Linked DNA regions of Homo sapiens: region 2 is linked to region 1. Evidence: promoter capture Hi-C in human tissues and cell types (Jung and others, 2019). All regions are on one chromosome and are shown on one strand. Each heading gives the region's core, a stretch centred on a gene start or on the middle of the fragment in contact. The rest is flanking DNA. Distances are from core to core; before and after follow the strand shown. Region 1 holds the start of C11orf86 (chromosome 11 open reading frame 86). Region 2 overlaps PC (pyruvate carboxylase).

Region 1 (4,468 bases), core at 127-2,626:
GGATTACAGGCATGAGCCACTGCTCCCAGCCTCAGGTCTTTCTTTATAGCAGCAGGAGAACGGACAAATACAACCACCAACTCACTTTGTTCGAGGGCTTGCTGTGTGCCAAGCCCTGTGGACCACATTTAATACGCACAACAATTACCCAAGTTATTTGTCCCTCTTACGAATGAAGGAGAAAAATGTGCCCAAGGTCACAAGGCTGCAAGGAATGAAGCTACAGTTTACCCAGAGGCAGTTGGTCCTCAGAGCTTGAGTGCTCAAGGATAGTGCTGTGCTGCTGGGACATTAGGGGCAGCGCTGGGCCTGGAAAAAATCCAGGCCTCCTGACTCCTAGCCTGGAGCCGTCCTGTTTCCTTCTGTTTCTTAAAAAAAAAAAAAAAAAAAAAGAAATTCTCCAGTATTGTATAACACATATACCATAAAGTTTACCATTTCAACCATTGTTGTGCAACCAATCTCTGGAACTCTTCATCTTATGAAATCTGAAAATTTACAGCCATTAAATTCTTCATTCCTCCCTCCCCCAGTGCCTGGCAACGGCCATCCTCCTTGCTGTCTTTGTGAATGTGATTGTTCTAGCTTGGAGCCATACTGATGCTTTTTTGAAAAATATATTTCTTTTTGAGACGCAGTCTTGCTCTGTCACCCAGGTTGGGTGCAGTGGCACAATCTCGGCTCACTGCAACCTCCGCCTTCTGGGTTCAAGTGATTCTCCTGCCTCAGCCTCCTGAGTAGCTGGGATTACAGGCGCCCGCCACCATGCCCAGCTAATTTTTTGTATTTTTAGTAGAGACGGGGTTTTACCATGTTGGCAAGGCTGGTCTGGAACTCCTGATCTCAGGCAATCTGCCTGCCTCGGCCTCTCAAAGTGCTAGGATTACAGGCGTGAGCCACCGGGCCTGGCCCAATTCTTAAAAGGCTGTCTCTGTTTGGTTGTTAAGCCATGGTGCTCAGTGTCAATGGATGCCGGGGCCATAGAGATTCAGAGGAGAACAAACTCTTCAGGGATGAGGTAGTCAGGGAAGCTGCCTAGAGGAGAAGGAGGAGAAGGAGGAGGGGGGAGGGAGAGGGGAGGGGAAGGAAGGGGGAGGGGAGGGGAGAAGGAGGGGGGAGGATGGGGGAGGAGGGAGGGGGGAGAGGAGGGGAGGGGGAGGGGAGGGGGAGGGGGGAAGGATAGGTGAAGGAGGGAGTGGCAATTTCCTCCCCTTGGCCTTCACTCCTTGACCCAGAAGGTGGGGAGGCAGTGGTGAGGTGACTCAGGGATGCTTGGCCCTGTGGCCTGCCCTTTGATTTATGAAAGCCACCTTGGCAGCACCAACCTTTGCCCCCAGTGATCTCTTGTCAGATGGGTGGAGGCACTGGGCCACCTCAGAGGGCCAGTGTCTTGCTGAGGGGCCGGAGCAGTCCTGTGCCTGCAGCCTCCGGAGCCATGGGAACAGGGCTGCGAAGTCAGTCCTTGCGAGAGCCCCGACCCTCCTATGGAAAGCTGCAGGAGCCCTGGGGGAGGCCCCAGGAGGGCCAACTCCGCAGGGCGCTAAGCCTCAGACAGGGGCAAGAGAAGTCCAGGTCCCAGGGCCTCGAGAGAGGCACAGAAGGGCCAGATGCCACTGCCCAGGAGCGGGTGCCGGGGAGCCTGGGGGACACAGAGCAGCTGATCCAAGCCCAGCGAAGAGGCAGCCGGTGGTGGCTGAGGCGGTACCAACAGGTATGGCTGTGGGCTGAAGGATGGAGGGTACCACAGCAGGTGGGCAGGGATTCCAGGGCAGGAAAGGTTCAGAGACAGAGCCAGCCCAGGCTGTGTACCAAGATGACAACCGAGCTGCCTGGAGATGAGGGTGCAGAGAGAGACACCCCAGAGCCACGTTTCAGAGGGCCCTGAAGGCATTTGGGATTTATCCCACAGGCACTGGGGAGCCACTGAAGGTTTTAGAGGAGGAGGGTGATATGGTAAGCGCTGTTTTTAGCTGATTGATAGTATGCTGGATGGGGGAATAGAGCAGGAGGCAAGGAGATCAGCCAGTGCAACTTCCTGGGAAGTACACTGTGTGACCCTCTCACCCCAGAGAAAAAGGGGAGATCTGGACCCCTTTGTGGGGGGCTGCAGGCTCCCTCCTCTAAGAGACAGGGTCTCCAATGAGCAGTGCTTCTCTACCTGGGGTCTACCCCCACCTCGTGGCTATGGGTGGAACAACATCTAAGCCCACCACTCAGCCCATGGGACCTCCCCCACCTCTGTCTTCCAGCAGGTAAGAAGAAGGTGGGAGAGCTTTGTCGCCATCTTCCCCAGCGTGACTCTGAGTCAGCCGGCCTCCCCGTAGCCCACACTGGGCACCATCAGCTAAAGATGCTGGAAGCCATCGTGGCCCCCTTGCTGTGCCTGGACCAGCCCACCGTGTCTGCTGACCTACCTCTTCACAGCTCTCTGGACTTTGGCTGGGTGGCCCTAGGAGGCTTCTGCCACCAGCTCACTGGAGTCGCCACGTGGCTGCCACTCTTAGCTCTGGCCCTTCCACTCCAGCACTAGCTCTCTTTGAAGATCCCAGCAGGGTCAAAAAGAAGGGGGCTCAGCTGTCTGCCCTCTGGGCTTGGGTAGGGGCCTTGGACTATGATTCTATGAAGGTTTAGAAGAAGCCTGCCCGGAATGGGGGCTGTGGACGCTCCTGCCCCACACGACCAGCTGTCAACTTCCAGGACGGAGCTTGATGAAGCCAGACCCATGGCCGAGAGGCTCACGGACGTTGCCTGGTCACTGGGCCATGACCCAACTGCCCTTCTTGTCAGTTGCTGATGGTGGGCCAGGGCGCAGGTCTCCCTCCCAGATGGTGAGCCCTCTGGGGCAAGGACCACAGCTGGGTGGCCCTCCTGGCTGAGCACTCTGTGCTGAAAACCTTTGAACCTCACGGTGTCCTGATGAAGGAAGCAGAGGAAGTCTTCCTCCCTGTGTGACAGAGGGGGAAACTGAGGCCCAGAGTGGGGAAGGGATTTCTTGGTTTTGACATCTCCGACCCCACCCCACCCCATCCAGTGTCCAGCACTGGAGTCGAACACAGTAATAAAGATGCTGAGAAAAAGTCAACGATTTGCCTGGTGACTAACTCGCTGGCTCAGACCCCCACCCCCCCACCCCTGCTGACCCCTGTGAGGCAGGCTAAGCCCAAAGCATCCCAGAATGCTTGGGCAGGGGCACCAGGGCCCGGGGCGGGCTGGATCCCCCACCAGGCTGGGCCTTTCCTGCCACTTCTCTGGACCTTTCTCCCCAGAGGGATTGTGCCCACCCTGTGCTGACCTCAAGGCCAGCTTCAGAGGACCTGGCTCTCAGTGTCCTGCCTCTGTGCCCACCCCACTGAGGTGGGGCTCCTTCTGAGGCTTAGAGAGGCAAGGGCCACACAGAAGGAGAGGGTCTGACCCCAAAAAGCCTGAGCTCTTCGAGAGACACTGGCACTTTTTGCAGGGCCCCTGGGGCTCTCCAGGCTCAAGCAGGCCCAAGGACAAAGGTGAGGGAGCAGCTAAGTATCCTGGTCCAGGATCTGTTCCGGGGGGTGTTGTCCAGTGGACAGAGGGGAGGCTTCCGTTTCCCCAGAGACCAGGCCCCATCAGGGCCATTCAGAAACAAGGGGGGAGCTGGGAAAATTTTCTTCCAGGAAGCCTAGGGTGCCTGGCTGGGAAGCTAGATGGTAGGAGCCCACCAGAAGCCTTGAGCCCGGCCGGTCTTATGCTTCAGATACCCTTCTCAGCTTCTTCTGCAGTAGTACCTGAGGTGCCTCTGGGGAACCCCAGGACTCCAGGGAACAGAATTGAAATTCACAGCTCTGACCCACCTCTCAGTGTCTGGAGGAGGACCTCTCAATGTTCCTCCTCAATGTCTGGAGGAGGAAAATGGCGCCCAGAATGGGGCAGGACTTCTCATCCTCCAGGACGCTGCCCTCCAAGTTTGTCCCAGCCTCTTTATCCTCAGAGAATCTCTAGCCCAACTCCCAGCAGTTCTAATTGTCACACTGACCAGTTAGTCTAGTTATGTGCTTTTTTATTTTCCTTTCTTTCTTTCTTTTTCTTTCTTTCTCTTTCTCTCTCTTTTTTTTTTTTTTTTTTGTCTAGTTATGTGCTTTTTTTTGAGATGGAGTCTTGCTCTGTCACCCAGATTGGAGTGCAGTGGCATGATCTTGGCTCACTGCAACGTCCGCCTCCCGGGTTCAAGCAATTCTCCTGCCTCAGCCTGTATTCTCCTGCTTCATCCAAGTAGCTGGGATTACAGGCGCCTGCCATCACTCCTGGCTAATTTTTCTATTTTTAGTAGAAATGGGGTTTCATCATGTTGGCCAAGCTGGTCTCAAACTCCTGACCTCAGGTGATCCGCCCTCCTTGGCCTCACAAAGTGCTGGGATTACAGACATGACCCACAGTGCCTGGCTTTTTTCTTCCATTACACTGAAAGTTCCACGGAAACCTGGTCTGTTCACTACCA
Region 2 (4,155 bases), core at 1,443-3,942, 36 kb before region 1:
TTCTGACCTCAAATGATCCACCCGTCTGGGCCTCCCAAAGTGCTGGGATTACAGGTGTAAGCCACTGTGCCCGGCCTAAAGACAGGCCTTCCTACAGGTCAAGGAAGCTTGACTAATTGTTATTAGGGATTAAATTGAAAAACTGTCCCTGAAGACAAAGAGGTCAGGACCATCTAAGACTCAAAAGTCCAATAATTACAGTTGAAGGTTTTGCCTTCAACAGTGTTCATCCCACTATCTCCTGGCTCCCATGATTTCTGAGGAGAAATGAGCTGTTAATCTGATCAAAGATCCTTTGAACAAGATAAGTTGCTCATCTCTTGCTGCTTTCAAGATTCTTTGTCATTTGACACTTTGATTATGAAATATCTAGGTGTGGATCTCTGATATTCATCCTCATTGGAGTTCACTGAGCTTCCTGAGTGGGTAGGTTACTGTTTTTCATCAGCTTGTGGCCATTCTTTCTGACCCTTTCTCTCCTCTCCTTCTGGGACTCTCATGATGCATATGTTGATTTGTGTGACGGTGCACCATGGGTCTCTGAGGCTGTTAATTTTCCTTCATTCTTTTTTCATTAGCCTGAAAAATCTCAAGGTACCATCTTCAAGCTTGCTGATTTTTTTCTGCCTGCTCAAATCTGCTGTTCAGCCTCTAGTGAATTTTTCATGTCAGTAACTACACAGTTCAACTCCAGAATTTCTGGGTTTTTTTTGTTTTTTTTTTTTTTGAGACTGAGTCTTGCTCTGTTGCCTAGGCTGGAGTACAGTGATGCCATCTCAGCTCACTGCAATCTCCACCTCCCAGGTTCAAGCGATTCTCCTGCCTCAGCCTCCTGAGTAGCTGGGACTACAGGTGCGTGCCACCACACTCAGCTAATTTTTTGTATTTTTAGTAGAGACGGGGTTTCACTGTGTTAGCCAGGATGGTCTCGATCTCTCGACCTCGTGATCCACCTGCCTTGGCCTCCCTCTATTTGGTGAGACACTCTTCTCACATTTTCCTTAAGTTCTTTAGACAAATTTAAAATAGTTGATTTAACATCATTGTCTATGAAGTCCAACATCTAGGCTGGAAAAGACTGTGTCTTTCCTGTGTATGAACCATACTTTCTTGTTTCTTTGCATGCCTCATAACTTTTTGTTGAAAACAAGAATAACTTTTTTCTGCGATTTTTCCTGAATAAATGTGTCTTAGATTGTTGCAAGCCTTTGGTTAATTTCTCGAGTTCTGAAAAAGTTGGTTTTAATCATTTTTGCCAGTTTTCTCATTCCTTTAAATGGAGGAACAGCATTTATGAAGTCCTCACTCCACCACTCCCCAGCAATCTATATCTCATATGGCATTTAGAAAGAGGTTTTCATCCCCCAAAACAATTTTTTGGAAAAGAGGGGTAAAAGAGTCAAACTCTGATATTTAAGTACCTAGTACTCGACCGTAAGCCCCAAGTAGTGTTATGAATTGCACCCTTCTCTAATTAGATTTTTTAAATTGATAACTTAAAATTAAAACATCCTATAAAGAAAAAAATACTATATAGAAAATTTTTTAAACACATAATTTTGTAACTCCAGCAACCTGAACAAATTGTTGGTATAGCATTCCAAAATAACAAAAAATGAGATATTATACATTCTGTTTTATAATATATATTTTTTGTGTAAAGGCATCATAGCTCTCGTCCTATGGTAATAAATTTAGAGTGACAGCTTGATTAGGATACATGAGCTATTTTTAAAGGCTACATCATATGACACAGAACAGACTTCATATGTAGCAATCATTTTCTGATGTACGTTTTGGTGATTTCCCATTTTCTGCTATCACCTCATATGTTTGCACGCCTGTCCCATGATACCACAGGTTACATTTCTAGAACTGGAATTGCTGTGTTAAATGACTTGACATTTTAGGTTTCATCTTCTCTGCACCCCCCAGTCATTTAATACTGGCCCTATGGTGAAGCACATTTTCCCTCCTCTTTGAGAGCAGAGTCGTCACTCAGTGACATCACTGCCTTCGTTTACTATATGGTCAGCCCTCTGTATCTGTGGGTTCCACATCCACTCATTCAACCAACTGGGGATCAAAAATATTCGAAAAAGCAAAATAAAAAATGACAATACAACAATAAAAAATAATACAAATAAAAACAATACAGTATAAGAACTATTTACATGGCATTTACATTGGATTGGGTATTTTAAGTTATCCAGAGATGATTTAAAGTACACAAGATGATATGCATAGGTTATATGCAAATACTATGCCATTTTCTATCAAGCACTTGAGCATCTTGGAGGATTCTGGCATCCATAGGGGGGTCTTGGAACCAGTCCCCAGGGGATAGCAAGAAACAACTGTGCTATGAAATACTGTATCTCACAGTGCTCCTTTACCACCTTAAAGGGGAACACAGCCACAGGTGAGGACAGACTGTACTTAAAACTCCTGCAGAGGCTGGACACAGTGGTTCACGCCTGTAATCCTAATACTTTGGGAGGCCAAGGCGGGTGGATCACCTGAGGTCAGGAGTTTGAGACCAGCCTGACCAATACGGAGAAACCCCGTCTCTACTAAAAATACAAAATTAGCCAGGTGTGGTGGCGCATGCCTGTAATCCCAGCTACTCGGAAGGCTGAGGCAGGAGAATCACTTGAACCCGGGAGGCAGAGGTTGCAGCAAGCCGAGATCGTGCCATTGCACTCCAGCCTGGGCAACAAGAGCAAAACTCCGTCTCAAAAAAAAAAAAAAAAAAAAAACCAAAAACAAGAAAAAACAAAAAAAAAACAACTCCTGCAGAGACACATGAGAAAGAATGAAATTGGACCCTTACCTGACACCATATCCATGACCTAAACATAAGACCTAAAATGACAAAACTCTTGGAAAAAACATAGGGGAAAAGCTTTATATTAGATTTAACAATGATTTCTTGGATACAACACCAAAGGCAGGCACAGGCAACAAAAAGCAAAGATAGACAAGTTGGACTTCAAGAAAATGTAAAAATTTTGTGCATCAAAAGACATTATCATGGGGTAAAAAGGCAATCCACAGTATGGAAGAAAATATTTACAAATCATGTATCTGATAAGGGATTAATATCGAGAATACATAGAAAGTTCCCAAAACTTTTTTTTTTTTTTTTTGAGACAGGGTCTCACTCTGTTGTCCAGGCTGGAATGCAGTCGTACAATCTCGACTCACTGCAGCCTCGACTTCTCATGCTCAAGTGATCCTCCCACTTCAGTCTCCCTGGTAGTTGGGACCACACCCGGCCCCTCTGCCCATTTTGAATCAGGTGGTTTTTTGTGTGTGTGTGTTGAATTTTGGGAGTTTGCCAGGTGCAGTGGCTCATGTCTGTAATCCCAGCACTTTGGGAGGCTGAAGCAGGCAGATCACTTGAGCTCAGGAGTTCAAGACCAGCCTGGGCATCATGGTGAAACGCTGTCTCCACAAAAAATACAAAAACTACAGCTACAAAATACAAAATACAAAAAAATACAGCTACAAGGGAGGCTGAGGTGGGAGGATCACTGCAGCCCAGGAGGTCGAGGCTGCAGTGAGCCAAGACTGTGCCACTGTACTCCAGCCTGGGCAACAGAACAAGACCCTGTCTCAAAATAAATAAATAAATAAATAATAAAAATTTAAAAAGGCAAAGGACTTGAACAGACATTTCCCCAAAGAAGATAGAAGATATACAAATGGCCAATAAGCACATCACAAGATGCTCAAGGCCAGGCACAGTGGCTCACGCCTGTAATCCCAGTACTTTGGGAGGCTGAGGCAGGTGGTCACTTGAGGTCAGGAGATCGAGACCAGCCTGGCTAACACGTCTCTACTAAAAATACAAAAATTAGCCAGGCATGGTGGTGCATGTTTACAATCCAAGCTACTTGGGAGGCTGAGGCAAGAGGATAGCTTGAACCCAGGAGGCAGAGGTTGCAGTGAGCTGACATGGTGCCACTGCACTCCAGCCTGGGCAACAGAGCAAGCAAGACTCCATCTAAAAAAAAAAAAAAAAAAAAAAGGTGCTCAACATCACTAATCATTAAGGAAATGCAAATCCAAACTACAATGAGATATCACCTCATACCCATTGGGATGGCTACTATCAAAACAACAAAGTGTTGGTGAGGATGTGGAAAAACT

Evidence for each region. Contacts are between HindIII fragments. The study calls those that stand out against the background at their distance.
Region 2: a fragment that was not itself captured here is called in contact with the fragment with the promoter of C11orf86 in region 1 in 2 of the 25 tissues and cell types used here (liver and neural progenitor cells).

The regions. Positions count from the first base shown.
Region 1 is chr11:66,973,928-66,978,395 of GRCh38, forward strand. It overlaps C11orf86 (chromosome 11 open reading frame 86), which reads left to right and starts at 1,377. Exons shown (of 2, transcript NM_001353554.2): 1 at 1,377-1,711; 2 at 2,250-3,082. The coding sequence starts at 1,436. The coding sequence ends at 2,324. RefSeq lists an enhancer at 2,058-2,561. The HindIII fragment of the contact is 14,679 bases long and covers 1-4,468 here.
Region 2 is chr11:66,937,068-66,941,222 of GRCh38, forward strand. The region is part of intron 3 of PC (pyruvate carboxylase); the gene reads right to left. Among named protein-coding and RNA genes, the nearest start is that of MIR3163, 4.6 kb to the left of the region's middle. The HindIII fragment of the contact is 4,670 bases long and covers 358-4,155 here.